4 separate regions of the Homo sapiens genome follow, and regions 1, 2 and 3 are each linked to region 4. Evidence: promoter capture Hi-C in human tissues and cell types (Jung and others, 2019). All regions are on one chromosome and are shown on one strand. The core of a region is centred on a gene start or on the middle of the fragment in contact, and the rest is flanking DNA. Distances in the headings are between cores, read along the strand shown. Region 1 overlaps TOM1L1 (target of myb1 like 1 membrane trafficking protein). Region 2 overlaps STXBP4 (syntaxin binding protein 4). Region 3 overlaps STXBP4 (syntaxin binding protein 4). Region 4 holds the start of MMD (monocyte to macrophage differentiation associated).

The links. Contacts are between HindIII fragments. The study calls those that stand out against the background at their distance.
Region 1: a fragment that was not itself captured here is called in contact with the fragment with the promoter of MMD in region 4 in 1 of the 25 tissues and cell types used here (dorsolateral prefrontal cortex).
Region 2: a contact is called between a fragment that was not itself captured here and the fragment with the promoter of MMD in region 4, in 2 of the 25 tissues and cell types used here (H1 embryonic stem cells and bladder).
Region 3: a fragment that was not itself captured here is called in contact with the fragment with the promoter of MMD in region 4 in 1 of the 25 tissues and cell types used here (thymus).

The regions. Positions count from the first base shown.
Region 1 is chr17:54,937,804-54,942,540 of GRCh38, reverse strand. It overlaps TOM1L1 (target of myb1 like 1 membrane trafficking protein), which reads right to left. Exons shown (of 16, transcript NM_005486.3): 11 at 3,521-3,617. Among named protein-coding and RNA genes, the nearest start is that of COX11, 28 kb to the left of the region's middle. The HindIII fragment of the contact is 6,558 bases long and covers 1-4,737 here.
Region 2 is chr17:55,089,982-55,094,512 of GRCh38, reverse strand. All of the region lies in intron 16 of STXBP4 (syntaxin binding protein 4), which reads right to left. It overlaps LOC107985002 (a long non-coding RNA gene), which reads right to left. Exons shown (of 2, transcript XR_001752943.2): 1 at 1,839-4,531; 2 at 320-707. Among named protein-coding and RNA genes, the nearest start is that of STXBP4, 120 kb to the right of the region's middle. RefSeq lists an enhancer at 4,270-4,369. The HindIII fragment of the contact is 5,652 bases long and covers 1-4,531 here.
Region 3 is chr17:55,141,065-55,145,592 of GRCh38, reverse strand. It overlaps STXBP4 (syntaxin binding protein 4), which reads right to left. Exons shown (of 18, transcript NM_178509.6): 17 at 4,226-4,283. Among named protein-coding and RNA genes, the nearest start is that of HLF, 120 kb to the left of the region's middle. The HindIII fragment of the contact is 5,724 bases long and covers 104-4,528 here.
Region 4 is chr17:55,419,624-55,423,973 of GRCh38, reverse strand. MMD (monocyte to macrophage differentiation associated) reads left to right here and starts at 2,139. Exons shown (of 7, transcript NM_012329.3): 1 at 2,139-2,304. The coding sequence starts at 2,279. RefSeq lists a silencer at 1,739-2,198. The HindIII fragment of the contact is 18,270 bases long and covers 1-4,350 here.

The DNA of each region.
Region 1 (4,737 bases), core at 921-3,420, 480 kb after region 4:
TCAGCCTTGGTTTCCTCTTGTTTAAAATGAAAATGATGGTGGCACATACCTCATAGGTTAAGTAATTAGTAAGCATTTCTATACTTCTTAGCTTGTTGCCTGTTAGTAAATGGGTCATAAATATGGCCTATGAGCCGGGCACAGTGGCTCATGCCTGTAATCCCAGCACTTCAGGAAGCCGAGGTGGGCAGATCACCGTAGGTCAGGAGTTTGAGACCACAGCCTGGCCAACATGGTAAAACCAGGTCTCTACTAAAAATACAAAAAAAAAAAAAAATTAGATGGGTGTGGTGGCGGGTGCCTGTAATCCCAGCTACTTGGGAGGCTGAGGCAGGAGACTCGCTTGAACCTGGAAGGTGGAGGTTGCAGTTGGCCAAAATCGAACTACGGCACTCCAGTCTGGGTGACAAAGTAAGACTCTGTCTCAAAAAAAAAATGACCTATGTTTTATCCTGTCTTCTTTGTTATTGTTTTTTAAGGATTCTTTCTGTTATGAAAAACTGCATCACCCACTTTTTCTGTGATGGTGAATAAATTAAACTGCAAACAAAGGGATGGAAAAAATCTCAACATTATAAGACATTTTAATGGCTGATTTTGCCTCTCACAAGTGATCTTAGGCATATGATTTAAACCAGGTATACGCCCTCGAATCTTGGTATAGATGTTCATCATAGGGTTTCTCAATGTATGATAGGAAAACCACTGCATTATGATCCTCCTGGAATGCATGTTAAAGATTCTTGCTGCTGAATCAGAGTTTCTGGGGACCAGCAATTTGACTTTTTGACAGTCACCCAAGTGATTTTTATGCATACTGAATTATTAGATCCAAGTAGGTTACAGATTAAAACAGGCAGCTATTAGCTGAAATTTGACTTTTAATGAATTTTATAGACACTTGTTGTAATGGGATTTTATCTGTATTATTCTTTCTCTCATTACCCAACAAGATTAGCAAGATAACACAAACAGAATCAGCTATTTTAAACCACACTATTTACCAAGCGACTTCAATCTGCCTACATTTCAACATTTACTTGCATTGCATGTAGCCAAAACAAGAGGTAGCCAACAGAAGATACTGACCTAACTCAGTGGTTCATGAAAGAGCCATTGACACTTAATCATTTCCCAACACATGAATCCTTTCTTCTCTTCTTCCCTTATATTTTGCTCTTTTTTCTTCCCAGTTTGATTCTTCTTTCTCATTTTCCTCCCTCTGCCCCTCCCCCTTTTAAATATAGAAAAGTAATTCAGTGATTGGGTACATAAGTATTTAAACAAAACACTAGGAAACTTTTTAAAAAATCTAAATCCACTGATACAAACACACTGCCAAAGTATGTTAAGTGAAAAACAAAAGGTTCAGAACACAGTGATAGTATGCTGCATTTTATTGAATAACGGAGAAAGAAATTCATATTCCTATTTGCCTAAAGACACTATGGAAGGATAAATCAGAACCTAACAAATAATTATCTGGGTGGGAGTAGAGCGTGACACTAGGGAAAAGGAGAGAGGGAGGATGAAGAGGGAATGAAAACAAGAATTGTCTTATACAACTTTTTATACTGTTTTGATATCTGAATAATGAAAATGTGTTGCCTATTATCTAAAATATATACACTTAAAAGGAAAAAAGCTATTGACATTGGCATAAGGCAAATTCAACTGCTATTTATTCTATCCTGCCTCTTCTGGAACTTACGTAACCACTCTTTCACTCTTTTTCAGTTTTTTCCTTCCTGTATCATTCTTGTTTCTTTATGTGAATAGAGGCAAATATTAATATATATTCTTATTTCCAACTTTCTTACACAAATGCAATATATTACACACACACTACTTAGCACCTTTTTTTCCTACTTAGCAATAAATATATTGGTGATTATTACTTTTATCCCCCAGCTAGACAGTAATATGTTGTACAGATGTTTATTTAACCAGTCCCCAACTGAGGGATATTTTGAGTTGTTTCCAATTACTTGCTATTGCCCAAAATGTTGTAAAGAATAATTTTGTAAACACCTAACTGTGTGTAAGTGTGGTATAAATTTCTACAGATAAGATTGCAGATTCAAAGAAATAAATGCATTTATAATTTTAATAGATATTGCCACCTGCCCCTATAAGAGTTACATAATTTTGTCATAGTAACTGTCTTTCCATAGCCAACAAAGTATGTTATGAAATATTGGGACTTTTGCCAACCTGAGAAGTAGAAAACAATTTCTTATTAGACTTTAATTGACATTTCTCTATAAGTAAAGTTGAACATCATTGCATATGTTTATAGGTCATTAATATTTCTTTTTAATATTGGACTATCAGAAAACCTGATGGCTGGGTGCAGTAGCTCACATCTTGTAATCCTAGCACTTTGGGAGGCCGAGGCACATGGATCGCTTGAGCCCAGGTGTTTGAGACCAGCCTGGGCAACACGGCAAAACCTCACCTCTACTAAAAACACAAAAATTAGTTGGGCATTGGGGCATATGCCTATAATTCCAGCTACTCAGGAGGTTCCAGCTACTCCATCAGGTTTTATTAGTCCAATTTTAATATTGGACTATCAGTCCATCAGACTTGCTACTTACTGGCTATACAAACTTGGGCAAGTTCTAGTTCCTTCAATAGAGAAATGACCAAGAAATCTCAGTCTCTTTTCCTGTATGATGGGAATAATGATAACAGGCTGGTGCAGTGGCTCACTTTAGGAGGCCAAGGCGGGAGGATCACCTGAGGCCTGGAGTTCAAGACCAGCTTGGGCAACAAAGCGAGACCCCATCTCTACAAAAAATTTTAAAAATTAGATTAGCCCAGTATGGTGGCGCACACCTGTAGTCCCAGCTATTAAGAGGTTGAGGTGGGAGTATCCCTTGGGCCCAGGAGTTTGAGGCTGCAGTGAGTTATAATGGTGCTACTGTACTCCAGCCTGAGTGACAGAGCAAGACCCTGACCTAACATCGCTGACCTAAGTACTTTAGTGAAGATTAGATGAAATAAACAAAAATAGCTTAACTGAGTGCCTGCCACACAGCAAGTACCCTGTAACTGATGGGGCCATTACTCTTAATTTTGAACCTCATTGCTCTTCTGCCTCCTTTGTCATTGTATTTCCCCTGTTCTTCCCCATCTCCTGTTACTACTAAAAATAAACAGAGACAATTTATTGAAGGCTTACTATGTACCAAGTGCTATATCGCCTGCACTGCACTGCACTGCAACCTCTACCTCCCAGGTTCAAGTGATTCTCATGCCTCAGCCTCCCAAGTAGTTGGAATTATAGGCATATGCCACAATGCCCAACTAATTTTTGTATTTTTACTAGAGATGAGGTTTTGCCATGTTGCCCAGGCTGGTCTCAAACTCCTGGGCTCAAGTGATCCATGTGCCTTGGCCTCCCAAAGTGCTAGGATTACAGATGTAAGTCACTGCGCCCAGCCATCAGGTTTTCTTAATTGTAAGGAATCTAAATGTCATGATATTAGTTCTGCAGTGTTACTGACATACTTACGGGGGTATCTCTGTATTCTCCAAGGCTAGCAAGTTCATCTGTGGATGAAGACTGGGTTTTAAGTTGTTTGTTACATCAGAACTTGGAAGGCTGAAATCTAAAACACAAAATGGACTTGTTTGGCTTTAAAACATTTTGTCAGTCAGTTATGCTGGATTTTCTACAGTAAAAACAAAAAAAAAGAAAAAAGAAAAAGAAAAAAAAAAGAAAAACCCACCAAATAAAAGAGATTAATTTAGATATTTCTGTCACCCTAAAATCATGAGATTTCCTAGCTCTAAGAGAAATTAAAAAGCATCATTTATGGTAGGTAGAGAGAGAAAGAATTTCCCTGCCATGAGAAGAAGTTGTTGTAAGGGTAACAAATATTATTGTATTGGATTTTCTAAAATCCCAAGCTGATCCAGAATGCAAAGGATTTTACATCTTGTTCTGCCTAGCACAAAAGTAAAAAATTACAGTACATACTGAGCTCTACCTTCACCTCAAGCTCCAGTCCATAATCTTTTTTTTTTTTTTTTTTTTTTGAGATGGAGTCTCACTTTGTCACCCAGACTGGAGTGCAGTGGCACGATCTCGGCTCACCACAACCTCCACCTCCTGAGTTCAAGTGATTCTTCTGCCTCAGCCTCCTGAGTAGCTGGGATTATAGGCGCCCACCACCACTCCCGGCTAATTTTTGTATTTTTAGTAGAGACAGGGCTTTGCCATGTTGGCCAGGCTGGTCTCGAACTCCTGACCTCAGGTGATCCACCTGACTCGGCCTCCCAAAGTGCTGGGATTATAGGTGTGAGCCACTATGCCTGGCCTCCAGGCCATAATCTTAAGTGAGATACCCCAAAGGGAATAATTCCCTCCCCCTCTGAAAATTCTCAATTAAAAACTCAGGAAAACTCTCCAATGTAACTGACTCTACACATCCCACTGGCCTACATAAACAAGTAGCCAACATTTTAGAACTGAGTAGAGTTCTAAGAAAACCACAAATTCAGTGATACTGAATATTTTTACTCCGGAAACAGCAGATGACATATGAGAAAAACAAACTGCTTTTAATTTGACAAAACTGGATTTCAGCATTTTTCATCATCCTTATTTTGTAATTTGCCAAACCCTTGCTGGGAATAAGGACAGCAGAAGATAACAGGTAAGATAGGTAACTCTTTTATAAATGTTTATAAAATGCATTGTAAGCTTTGCTACAATGCATTTTATAA
Region 2 (4,531 bases), core at 1,420-3,919, 330 kb after region 4:
TTTTTAAAAAATAAATATTTGTTAGCTGTTACTTCAAACTGAGCCCAAGTTACCACCATCTCCCACCTCAATCACTGCAATAGCCACCTAGTCTTCCTGCTTTCTTCACTCTTGCTACTCTTAGAGCCCAGTTTTAAACAAACACCCAAAGGATCTTTTAAAATGTAGACCATATCATGTTACTCCTTGTGCCTTCCTACGACACTTAAAATAAAATCCAAACTCCTTAGTATGGTGTTCAAAGCCTTGTATTATCTGGCTTCTTGCTACATATCCACCCTTATCGCATGCTGTTCTCCTGCTTGCTCATACGTATTAGATACACTGGCTTTTTTTTTTTTTTTTTTCCTGTCCCTCAAGTATGTCAAGTTTGTTCCTATCTCACAGCATTTGTACTGGGCCTGAAAGGTCCTTCCCATAGTTTTTGTTCCTGGCTGAGTCTGGGATGCAATGTTACCTCTTCAAAGAAGACTTATTTGTCAATTAATCTAATGTAGCATCTCCACTTACTCATCTTTCCTAATACATAATCTGGTTTTATTATGTGCATAACACTCATCACTGTCTACAATTACGTTTTCTATTTATTTGTGAACTTGCTTGTCCATCTCTGCCCACTACAATTTACCTAAGCAGCTTGATAGCAAGGGCCTTGTTTGTGTTGTTATCCTAGGGTCTGGCCCATTGTAGACACTCAACAAATAGTTCTGGAAGGAAGGAAATAATGAATGTAAATCATTACCTTTTCTTAAGCGATATGTTTTTCTCTTTAACTCATTTTTTCTGGAAATAAAATTGTACTAGGAAAAGAATTATTTCTCTTGTTGCTGGCAATAATTTGCCAACTTAAAACTCCCAAGATTAAATTTGATATATTTTCTTAATGGAACCTTACAACAGTGACCTACTTTCAGTTTGAAACAACACAGGAGAATATGTGAGTTCGCCATTTCCTTGAATGGCAAAATGCCACAAATATTTGTTGTGGTTATTATCTGGCTTTGAATAATCAAGTCACCAGAGAACAGGGCTGTTTTACAAAAACAGGTAAAATTTCTCTCAAGTGACACAGAATCATATAATAAGCTATTATCTAATGCTTGGAACATCACCCCAATTCTAGGAGAAGAAATAGCATAATTACTTTGTGTAGAGGAAAATACCATAATGTCCATTCTAAATATTAATAGTATAGCTGACTTTCATTAAAGAAACACAGTTTTGGCTGGGTGCGGTGACTCATGCCTATTATCCCAGCACTTTGGGAGGCCGAGGGGGGCAGATCACTTGTGTGTGTTCAAGACCAGCCGGGCCAATGTGGCAAAACCCATCTCTACTAAGAATACAAAACTTAGCTGGGCATGGTGGAGTACACCTGTAATCCCAGCTACTTGGGAAGCTGAGGCACGAGAATCGCTTGAACCCAGGAGGCAGAGGTTGCAGTGAGCCGAGATTGCGCCACTGCACTCCAGCTTGGGCAATAGAGAGAGACCCTGTCTCCAAAAAACAAAAAACAAAAAACAAACAAAAAACAAAAAACAAAAAAAATGTTTTTTTGTTTAATAAATTCATGCTTCTTAATAAATATATGCTCTGGGGGAAATGAGGAAAAGAATGATGAATGTCTGAGGTCCAGAATAAGTAGAATGAGAAGACGCCATATCAAGTCTAAGCTTTAGCTCCTAAAGAAGGGAAGAATTTAAAAGATAAATCCCATCAAGGCCTTTAAAATGTTACAGTACTGCCTTTCCCCTTTTTCTCATAAAACCTTTTCTAATCTGCTTAAGTAACTTCTAATTAGCTTCAGATGTAACAGAAAAAAGGCAGCTACTACTCACATTCTTCTTAAAAGGTAATATATTGCTGATTTCAGATAGGAACATCTGAAGTGATGCAGGAGACTTGCACAGACAAATACATGCAATCAGATGGTCACTGCTTGACAGTCTTATTTTTCAATTGGTTGAGTAAAAATAACATAGTTATTGAATCAACCTGTAAAAGTTGAACATCCATTTCTTTTGTTGCCTAAAATAATATGCCAAAGATTTTTCAGAGTAATGAGACCTACTAAATTACATGGTTGTTAATAAAATACAAAATCATAATCTTTCTTTACTGAGAGAAATTAGGACTTTTTTTACTGTTAATAGAAATATTTTCAAAATGTTATGTATTTCATTTCATTTATTTATTTATTGTTATTTCAATAGTTTTGGGGGAACAGGTGGTGTTTGGTTACATGGATAAGTTCTTTAGGTGTGATTTCTGAGGTTTTGGTGCAGCCATCACTTGAGCAGTGTACACTGCACCCAATGTGTAGTCTTTTATCCCTTAACCCCCTCCCAGCCTTCCTACTAAGTCCCCAGAGTCCATTGTGTCATTCTTAGTCTTTGCGTCCTCATATCTTAGCTCCCACTTATAAGTGAAAAGATAATGATGTTTGGCTTTCCATTCCTGAGTTACTTCCGTTAGAATAATGGTAACATCCATATTTTTGATATTACAGGTTGAGTACCCTTATCTGAGATGCTTGGACCAGAAGTATTTTGGATTTTGGAATACTTGCATATACATAATGAGGTACCTTAGGAATGGGACCCAAGACTACAACATACAATTCATTTGTTTCATAAGCACCTTTTACACAGCTTTTATAGAATATTTGTAACAATTCTGTGCGTGAACCAAATTTGTGATCATTGAACCATCAGAAAGTAAAGGTGTCACTATTCTGGTCACAATTCTGTGCGTGAACCAAACTTGTGATCATTGAACCATCAGAAAGTAAAGGTGTCACTATTCTGGTCACCCATGTGGACAATCTGTGGTTGTTTGGCATCACCATCATGCTTGCTCAGAAAAAAATATATCAAAGCTGAAGTGGGCTGGGAGGGTGTTTTGTTTTGTTTTGTTAGTTTTTTTTCTCTTGGGGACGCTGAATAAACTGTGTTATGCTCCTGTGTTTTGACTACCACCCATCACATGAGGTCAGGTGTGAAATTTTCCACTTCTGGGGCCATATCTGCACTCAAAAGTTTTGGATTTTGGGGCATTTCAAATTTGGGATTTCAGATTTGGGATGTTCAATCTGTATAAGAAATGCAGTAATAAAAATACATGTATATACTTATACACATCTTTTTTGCAAAAAAAATAGTAACAGGTGGGATTATTGAGTGAGAATATATGACCATTAAAAACATTTTAACTTTCAAAAAAACCTTCCAAATGGATATTTAAAAAGCTCTTGATATATACTGCAAAACGGATTCCCAAGGATGTCATGCCAATTTATATTCCCCACCTGTAGTGGATGAAATGTTTACTTTCAACTTTAATTAGTGGCAGGCCCAGATGGCTCATAAACTGGAGGGATTTTTTAAAATGCCTAATACATGAGCAATTTAAGAAAATAAAGTATATTCTCTACAGAAGGATTCCCGCTCCTTGCTTCCTTTGCTTAGGCATCATTTAGGGCCTCTTGGGTGTAGAAACCTTAGCTCCAATTGCTGATCTCAATTCTGTGAAATCTCTGAAGCTTAAAATCCTACTTATCATGATAGTTTCATATTGTTTCTGATGCAGGGTGATATTCCTTTCTTGTTTTTTATCTAAACACACACACACACACACACACACACACACACACACACAGACACACACACACACACACAATTTAAAATGTCATTTCTATGTGTAAGAGCAGAATGGGAAGGTTTTAGCATGAGATCCCTCTTCTATCTTGATCCTGAAGTCCACTATGAATCTTGAGAGCTGTATTTCCTGGCTTTATTTGTGGACCTTTTCACAATCATATATTTATATGTATATGTATGCATTTGTTTATAAGAGCTAGAATAGCCTGAATGAGATGTGTGTGTATATATACACATTATATATGTTATACATTTTTATTCATAAAAGCTTGAATTTAGAGAGCTCTCTACTCAGAACTGGTTTTTGACCTTTTAAAGAATGTGTAGACCCTTTGATTGCCCTAAAATTTGACCAAATTGTTGTTGGAATTACCCTCTCAAACCTCTGGGTGAAATGTACCTTTGCATTGTGAGTTTAAGGATGACTCAGCAGTCTGAGTGGGGTGAAAAGTGACTTAGAACAAGAGGTGGCTGCGCAGAGTGATGTGGCTTTTGGTGCTGAAGCTGTCGTGCCAACTCCTCTTACATTTAAAGCTTCCTGTATGCCCCAGTGTCTGTCAGATCTAAAGTGTGTCTCCACTTTCTAAAGGATCAAGCCCCAGTTGTCCTTCTGCTTGACAAATAATCTGTGTGAACCTGAGGATTTCAACAAATGCCACTGACTCACTAAGATAAAAAAGAGTGAAAAGAGATCGTCTGCCCCCTACCCCCAGCCTGTCTTTGACTTTATTCATTACTCCTTCAAATCAGAACATATTAAGAGTGTCCTCCTGCCAGGGTTCCTGCCAGTCAGTTATTCCCACAATCGTTACTGTTGTTTAGCAGTGGGAGTAACAGGTTGGCCCTTCCTGCTTTCCATCCATGTGGTCCTA
Region 3 (4,528 bases), core at 1,716-4,215, 280 kb after region 4:
AATATATGTGTGATGGACATGTGGATGGGCAGGGATAGTCAATGAGGATTATGTTCATCTGGACATTCTTAGGACACCACTGACAGTTATTCCCTTGCCAGAGGCTTGGCTTCCATCAGATGTAACAATTCAATTTCTGGGAAGGCAGTGACAGATGCCAATTTCAGGAAGAGATTATGTGTATATAGACCATCATCTCTTCTGGTGTTCTGGGAGGGTGATTTCAGTCACTATTCTTAAGTAGAGGTGAGAGAGCAATGATCTGAGTCCATTACTTATTATTTCTTGCCTTCAAAGCATCATCTATATGGTAAATGAATCACTCTTACCTCAAAAGCTAACACAGGCTACACAGACTCAAAATTTTTTGTTGGGGTAGTAAGAGAATGAAGATTAAAACAAAACAAAAACAAATGACAAACCAAAACGAAATAGTTCCAAAAAAGACATATAGTAGATGTCTGCTTATGCAAACTTTACTTATCTGACAACATCACCTAGTTGAATGCAGCTAAGAACCATAAAGAAACTCCCACCAAAATGTGAAAGCAAGGGGAGGGAGTGAAGAGGGCTAACCTTTGCTGAAAGTGTCTATTTTGGGCCAGGTGCTATGATAGGCTCTTTAAATACACAAGCTCATTCATTCTGGACAGGAACCCTATGAAGTGCTAATATACTTTCCTTTTTATAAATGGAGAAATTAATCCCAGAGAGGTTAAGTAAATGTGCCTAAGGTTTAGCTATTTTATTTAGCTATTTTGTGTAGACAGTGTCATTTTAATTAAAGTTTCTCCAAGTCCAAAGCCCATGCTCTTCTTTCCCTGATACCAGATGGCCTTCCTGTAATCAAATCCACCTGCAACAGAACTTATGTATCATACTTGACTTACATAAGCACTCCTGCAGAACCACATTCAAAGGCTATTTACAAGCAGTTCAAATTAGCCTCATTATCTGGCATCCTGTCCTCAAGTACAAAACTGGGGAAGAAGGTGGCTTGTGGAGAGTGGGCAAAGAGAATGGTCATGAGGAGAGGAACAGGGACACTGAGAGAAGCAAGAGATGACAGCTGTGTCTCTACTGTGTCTTATACAGCGTAATATCCCCTGTAGAACTCACTGTATTGTGTATAATGATGGATGTTCATAAGGATTTTGTTCACTGGCCTCTGTATAAGAAGTCAGGGAAGTGTGTAACATATATTAAAGTAAGACTTTCATCAAGAACAGTTAACTAAAATAAGTCTTGGTGCTTGAATAGGGTTAAGTTCCAACAAAAAAAAACTAACTTATGCCAAACACCCCATTCCTTCATGAGGCTGGGTAAAAGAAGTAATGGCATATTGTTAGATTTTCCTATTTCTACTCTTTGACTTTTTTAATCTCTGGAAGACAACTTCTTATTCTTACAACCAAGTTTCTATTCTGCTGTTTTAAAATGGATAAAGTATAGAGCTCTTCCTAAATTAAGATCTGTTTGAAGTGTCTTTCTTGTCACATGTCAACATACTATATTAACATGAGGATACAGAGGTGGTGAGGCGTGTGTGTGTGTGTGTGTGTGTGTGTGTGTGTGTGTGTGTGTGTGCAGGTGGCTTTGGGGCCAGACAACCCTGGATCTGAATCTTGGCTCTGCAATTTTATTACTGTGTGACCTTGATGACTACAGCCTCTTTTAACAGTTTCTCCTAATGAAATGGTAAGACAATAAGATCTACTATGGCCCTTTGGGGAATACATTTATTTTATCATCTCTTTTTCTGTTTTCCTTATGTGTCAAGACTAAGGTCAAGGAAACAAAAAATTGATGGACTTCCAAAACACACCCTTTGGGGGTATATTTTCCGAGCAAAGCAATGGGGTTAGGATAAATGTAGCATCTCTCTGTTCTTTCCACAGACACTGAGTTGGTTCCCAGGGCAGCCAAAGGGCTTATTGACTCCCTTTTATCTCCTCTTCTGGGACTCTATTCTCCCTTATAGTGGGAGACCAGCCCAAGGCTATTGTTCCAGGCTGCAAAGAACAGTGGCTTAAGCTAGCTGGGTAACAGGTAAGGAGACAAACCAACTCTCTGGCTGACCATCACTTGTTCCTGCTTTCTCTGTTTTGGGTAACTGTGCCCCTAGTATTTTTTTCTCTTAAGGCACTAGTTAGATTCTGACATTCAACTCTGGGTTAGGATATACTGACAGACAGCTAGGTTTAGGTAAAGGAGTTCCCCACAGGATCCAGACTCATTTACTGACATTTCAAAGGATCCTGAATGCAGAACCCCAGTTAATAATGAATGCTAATTTTCTTTCTTTTAATCATGCATTTCTTTGGGGAACCTTCTAGGAGAAAGCATGGCTAAGGGCAAGATGCAGCTCACTACCATCATAATGCCATTCCAATAAGAGCCCAGCAACACCTACTTTCCACATTGTTAAGAGCATTAAATGATATAATGCATAGAGAAATACACCTAGCATATTCCTGGCTATTAAGCACAAGCTAGTGCTCAGTAAATGCTCATGCCCTCATCTTTTCCTTTATAAAGTTAATATCAAAAAGAGAGAAAGAAAGAAATGCAACACAGATTTGAATGCATTTTTTCATTTTCCTGCCATTCCTACAGTACAGTGATTCAAATCTTCCAGAAACTAAACATGATTAATCCTGCATGCTAGAGAGCCCCTTCCAGAAGAGGTCTGATTCTGGAAGTAAAGAGTGTGGCACTAAATGTAATCTGCACATGGAATTCCTGGGTCCTCTATGCCAAAAGTTCATTTTCTTTCAAATGTTATAAACAACACCTTTGCCTGATTAATCACTTCATGCTAGAGATTGCAAGAAAAAAATTCAGCATGAAAACACTTTGCCAGGTTTATCTCTAGTTTTTCCTTAAATTTTTTCAAATACAAAGCTTTTGAATTCTCAATGTTTTTAATGGTCATATGATTGTTCAGGTTTTTTTTCCCCTCCACGATGGTTTCTCCATATTGTAAATTCATGATGGCTATTTATTGGGCATCTACTGTGTTCCAAGTTCTATGCTAGGTACTTAAGATTAAACAACTTTATAAAGTAGGTAATATTCCCCTCAGTATATGATGTGAAAGCTGAGGTTAACAGAGATGTAGGAACTGTGTAAAGTTGCGGGGCATGAGAATCCAAAATCTGGATATTGCTTTGTAAAATATTTGCACATTTGAAAGGGGATAGCAAGGACATGTCTCCCTTTTCCTCCCAAAATGCATACCAAGTATACTTTGCTAAAAGGATACACAAAGGAGTCCCCTGGGCTCTTAGGAGTCTGTTGGGATTCCCCTTTGTGCTCTCGAAATGTCAATTCTGACATAAAAGGAATTTTCAGGAAACGGTAGAAGTATATCACAGTGCTCTGTCCAGGGCAAAACTAACCAGTTCAGCATCTAGGAAATGTATTCCTGTTCAGGCTTTAAGGATGGGTCTTTATCAGTGACAGTCTAGTGCAGATAGTAGAATCTTGCGGTCAGAAGACTTTGACTCTAGTTCTGACTTGGTAATTAAGTAGTGATAGATTTTTTGGTAACTACTCAAGACTCTTATTTTCTTCATCTATAAAACAGAAAAAATGACAAGGTATACATACCTCAAGAGGTTGTTCTGAGAATCCACTGAGGTAAGGTTTGTTCATATACTGTCCTATTTATCTCAAGTTATTTATCTACTGTCTGTTTTTCCTCTCTATTATGTAAATTCTATGCTATCAAGAAACCAGTCTATATATTTCACCACTATATCTGCAGGGCGTGGAACACTGCCTGGCAAACAGCAAATGCTCAAAAAATAGTTGCAGAATGAACTGTGTGCATTTTAAAGCATTAAAAAATGTTGATATTAGCATTATTGTTAAGAACTTTCAAAGATATACAAAACGGATTTTTTTGCTAGGTATTAACTTTTCATAAACACTAATACTATTAGCCAGCAAGTGAATTTAGGCAGCCAGCCTAAGTTCAAATGATGATCCTGTTCCAATTTTTTGATGTTTCCCTAGAAATTATTACCAGGTTTTTTCCCCCAAATGATATCTGATATTAGCATTTAAATCACATGAAACGAAAATGGTGAGGCTTCATTTCTTGTTACTAATTTTTGTAACCTCCAAGAAGGTTTCTTAGTTTTGCTGATTATTCTGCAACTTCCAGGTTCTCTCCAGATGTGAAGAAAATTGCTTACTTGGTTGAGATGCTTGTACTTACTTGATGAAGTACTTGATTCCATCTGCTGTGTAAGCTTCCTCCCACCCATAAGGTAAACCTACAGTGAAAGGAAACCAAAAATATATTTAATAAGATGATAAAGATAACTTTATTTCCTGGACACAAACCTCCCTCATCTTTACAATTATTTGAGCACATTTCTTATACAAAATAATTTTCTAGAAAGGGGGAATTAAGACAATTCAGATGAGCTTTCATACTCAGCATCTTTAGAACACAATAAATAAGTCTTGAGCAGTTAACAATCTGCTTTAGTTGCAATAACTGGATTATGACTTGTCA
Region 4 (4,350 bases), core at 890-3,389:
AGGTGCCTACCACAACACCTGGCTAATTTTGTTGTTGTTGTTGTTAGAGATGAACTCTTGCTTTGGTGCTCAGGCTAGTTTCAATCTCCAGGCTTCAAGCGATCCTCCCACCTAGACCTCCCGAAGTGTTGGGATTACAGGTGCAAACCACTGTGCCTGGCCCTTTAAAAAAAAAAAAAAAAAGACTTTTTTTTTTCCAGAGAAGTTTTAGGATCACTCAAAAATTGAGAGTAAAGTACAGGGATTTCCCACACATACATAGCCTCTCCTGTTATCAAAATCCCCCAACAGTGTGGTACATCTGTTACAATTGAGCTTCCTTGTTTTATTTTTTAACCCTTCTTATGTTATTACACATGGCTATTTTTCATCTATCTTTATTAGCTATCTCCTTTGTTACCTTCCCCTCCCGCACTGATGTTTTAGCCCAGTGGCCCAACATAGCTGATAAGAAGCAGACTTTCATTCCAGGTTCATTTTCCCGATTTAGTGTTGAGGGTGCGGGTAGATGAAGTTTTGTTTTGTTTGTTTTGTTTTAGAGAAGTGTATTGCTTTAAAACAGGGAGAGATAGTCTGACGTACTGAAAGGAGGTGGGTCTTTAAAGTTAGCGAAAGGTAGGTAGGAGCCTTACTTTTGCCTTTGGCAAGTTTATTGACCACTATAAGCCTCAGCCTTATCTGTAAAATAAGTTGGATAATGCCCATCTGGAGGAGCTCTTGGGAAGATTGAAGCATGGAAAGCACCTCTCTGGAAGGTTCAAGGAAAGGGAACTAGAATTATGGGTGACAGAATTCCCTGGCTTTCCAATGCTTTACTGTAGGTCGAATGAGCACTCCTAGCAGGCTGGCCTCATGCCACTTCAGAGTCTCTAGCCTGCAGGCTGGGGGCTGGGTATGGACACGATACCTGGAAGGGAACACATATAACTTCCATCAGTGATCCTGGAAAGGCTCGACAAATCACCCATTCATTCATTCTGTGTGTATGTGTGTGTGTGTGAGAGAGAGAGAGAGAGACAGAGTCTCACTCTGTCACCCAGGCTGGAATGCAGTGGTGCAATCTCGGCTCACTGCAACCTCTATCTCCCAAGTTCAAGTGATTCTCCCATCTCAGCCCCCCGAGTAGCTGGGATTACAGGAGCCCGCCACCACTCCCGGCTAATTTTTGTATTTTTAGTAGAGACAAGGTTTCACCAAGTTGGCCAGGCTGGTCTCGAACTCCTGACCTCAGGTGATCCGCCCACCTTGGCTTCCCAAAGTGCTGGGATTACAGGCATGAACCACAGCACCTGGCCCATTCATTCATTTTTATTTGAACTTCTCTTCCAGGAAGCCCTCTGAGTTTAGGTTTAGCGACAGGACCCTGATTCAAGTCAACTCGTTTATTTGAAAGCTGCCTGGATAAAAATAAAATAAAATAAAAAATAAACTGGAGGATAACATAAAAGGATCCTTGCAGAGGATTCCTCCTTTTGTGGATCTCACTGAATCTCAGAGTTAGAAGACGCTCAGAGATCTCAACTCCCTCAAGGGTCAGACAAGGACAGGTTTTTCATTCTGCCCTGGATCCTCTCACAATAGCCTCGCGGGAGCTGGCCCTCAAAATGATGAAGGAATAAATGAAAGGAGGGATGGAGAAATTAATGATGAAGAAAAAATGAATGAGGTAGGGCTGCTTGTTTGCTGCTATTTTCTTCACAATGCTTTTAAGATTTCCTGGTCCATCTCCTCCTTCACCACTTCTCTCCCTCCCTCGATCTCTTCTCCAACTTGTCTCTTACAGAAGGGCGCCGCGTTCCCGCGCTCCTCCCCTTCCCCTCGCCCCGCCCCTCCCCAGCGAGGCCCCGCCTCGCTGCCCGAGCCCGGCGGGAATGAATGGCAGCGTAGCCGCCGCGCCGCTCGGGGTGCCGATTGGCTGACCGGCGCGCTGACGCGCCGGCGACCGCGGGTGCACGCAGGCGAACAGAGCCGGCGGGGGCGGAGCCGGGCTCCGGGGCGGGGCGCAGGAGCCCCGGGGCGGAGGAGCCGGGGAGGCGGGAGGCGGGAGGCGGGAGGTGTTGGGGCCGTTGAAGCGGCCTCCCTCCCGCCCCCAGCCGCCCGGTCTGGCCCCAGCCCTGTCCCGACCCCCGGCCTGGCCCACTCCGACCCTACCCGGCCGAAGGGTTCCGCTGGACACGCAGGCGGCCTCCGGAGCAGCCCAAGCCCATGAGGGCCGCGCGCCCGGCCGCCGGTGCTGACGAGACGGAGCTCCTGGCCCCCGAGGAGGAGCAGAGGATCAATGCGGTTCAAGAATCGATTCCAGCGGTGAGAGGGATGGCGTCCCGGTCCCGCTGCCCGTGTCAGAAGCGGGTTCCCAAATCCCGCCGTTAAGCGCACGGCTCCCGGCTCCTCACCTGGATTCATCCTGGGTGGATCCCGCACCTTGGCCAGGGATCAGTTCCCTGGGGATTCCCCACCCTGCTGTCCCTGGGCGATCCCCTTCCTCCAAGGATGGGAGCTCCTGCCTCACCCGGGTCTCCCCTCGCGATCTGCGGACCTCAGATGGATTCCCGGCCCCGGGACTCCAAGCCTGTCCTCCTTCCCGGGGATCCCTTTGCTCCTGGGGCTCACCCTCCCGACCCCCATACAGGCTGGGCTCTGGCTCTCTCTGGGAACCCGAACCCCAGCCCCGGGCACCGCCCCCGAGTCCTCCGACCTGGCTTTGGCCTCCATCCCTTTACCTCCAGGGTGGGGGTCTCCCGGGGCGCGCGGAACGGGGTGGCGCCCTGCGGAGAGATTTGTCGTAAAGCGGGGTGCTAGGCATTTTGGGTGCTTTGTGAACGGCCCTAGCAACAGGGAAACTGAGGCACGCTCCGCCAGCTTAGCCCTGCCTGGCCGTGTAGGGGCCTTGCTGGTTCTCCAGCTGAACGTCCCAGGGCGGTGCTATTTTTGGGCTCTGCGAAGGGGCATGTTAGCTTTCGGGTGGCGAGACCTGCTGTGGAGGCGCCGGTGTTAGGAAACGAGGAGGAGGAACCGTGGAGGCGCCACCGGAAGGCTGGCCGACTGCTCATTCACTGTAGAGCTGGTGGAAATGCCGGGCTGGGGGGCGCCGTGGCCTTACTCCCCTCTGGGGCTCCACCGTCTAACAATGGATGGAGGTTAGCCCATGACTCTGAGAGGAACTCCGGGCTTTTCTTTTCTGTTTAAGTGGGTGAAAGTTCACCTCTCCAGGGCATATGGTAACTGCATCCCTTTGTGTGAATTCCCGGACCTTCACCACCAGCATGTTTGCTGGGGGTGCAGTGACAGGGGAAATTTTAAGAAATGCATGAAATCTTCCAAGAAGGTTGTTGAGTTTTTAGACACTACCTTTTATTTCAGAATTTTAAAGTACACATTTTTTTTTTCTTTCCAATCTCCATGCCCTCACTGCCCTCTCACCCATCTCATTCCTCCCCCAGTCCCAAAGGGTAAAGGAGGCAACAAATGCACAGAAGAGTTGCCATGGTCTGGGCCACCAGGAAGGGGATCAGCTTGAAGACTTGGATTGACTTCTGAATATATTGCTTATCAGTCAGGGTGTTGAATGCTTGGCACTGTTCCCCCAGTGGAACTTCATACCGGTGTGTCTAAGGGCAAAATGGAACCGTAGTGTTCTGACTTTAGAACCTGATGTCAGAAATGAAGACCGGAGGGGCTTTTAGAGAGAATGTAACATGCACTCCAGTCATGATCAGTGAAGCCCTGTGCATGCGGTTTGATTTGGTTTTACTTCTCTACACGTCTGTGCTCTTCCTGTTTTCAGAGAACAGTGGCAATATTCTGTGAAATTGCCCCTTCCTTGTTTGATTAAGAGTTTGTCATTCTTACCTATACCTTTGGATCCTCTAAAAAGAAAAAAAACAAACAAACCCTGTTCAATTATTTGTTGCACAAACGTTAAAACTGTTAAAACAACAACAACAACAACTTCATTTAGGATGCTACCCTCTCAGCTTATTGAACTGACTTTTTAATTATTTTTGCTGGACACTGATCTCTCCATTCCTTATTAGCACAGTTGTAATGTGATTTTTGCGCTATTATTCACTTAAAAACTAAAAATACAGGTATTTTCTTTTGGTGTGGCATAGACTGTAATTTTCTTGGGGGCTTGTGTGTTTCTCAATGGATATTTAACAGTTTCTTTCTTGATGACATCTAGATCTACCCTGATTTTCTTTGAAGATTTGTGTGATCTCATAATTTCTTGGTTTTCTATCATAAGCTAGGTTGGAAACATAGTTCTAAGCATCAATTTTAACTTGGAAATAAAGCCTATAAACAAAAAGTAATGTAATGAGAATGTCCTGATTTTTGTGGTTCACACAT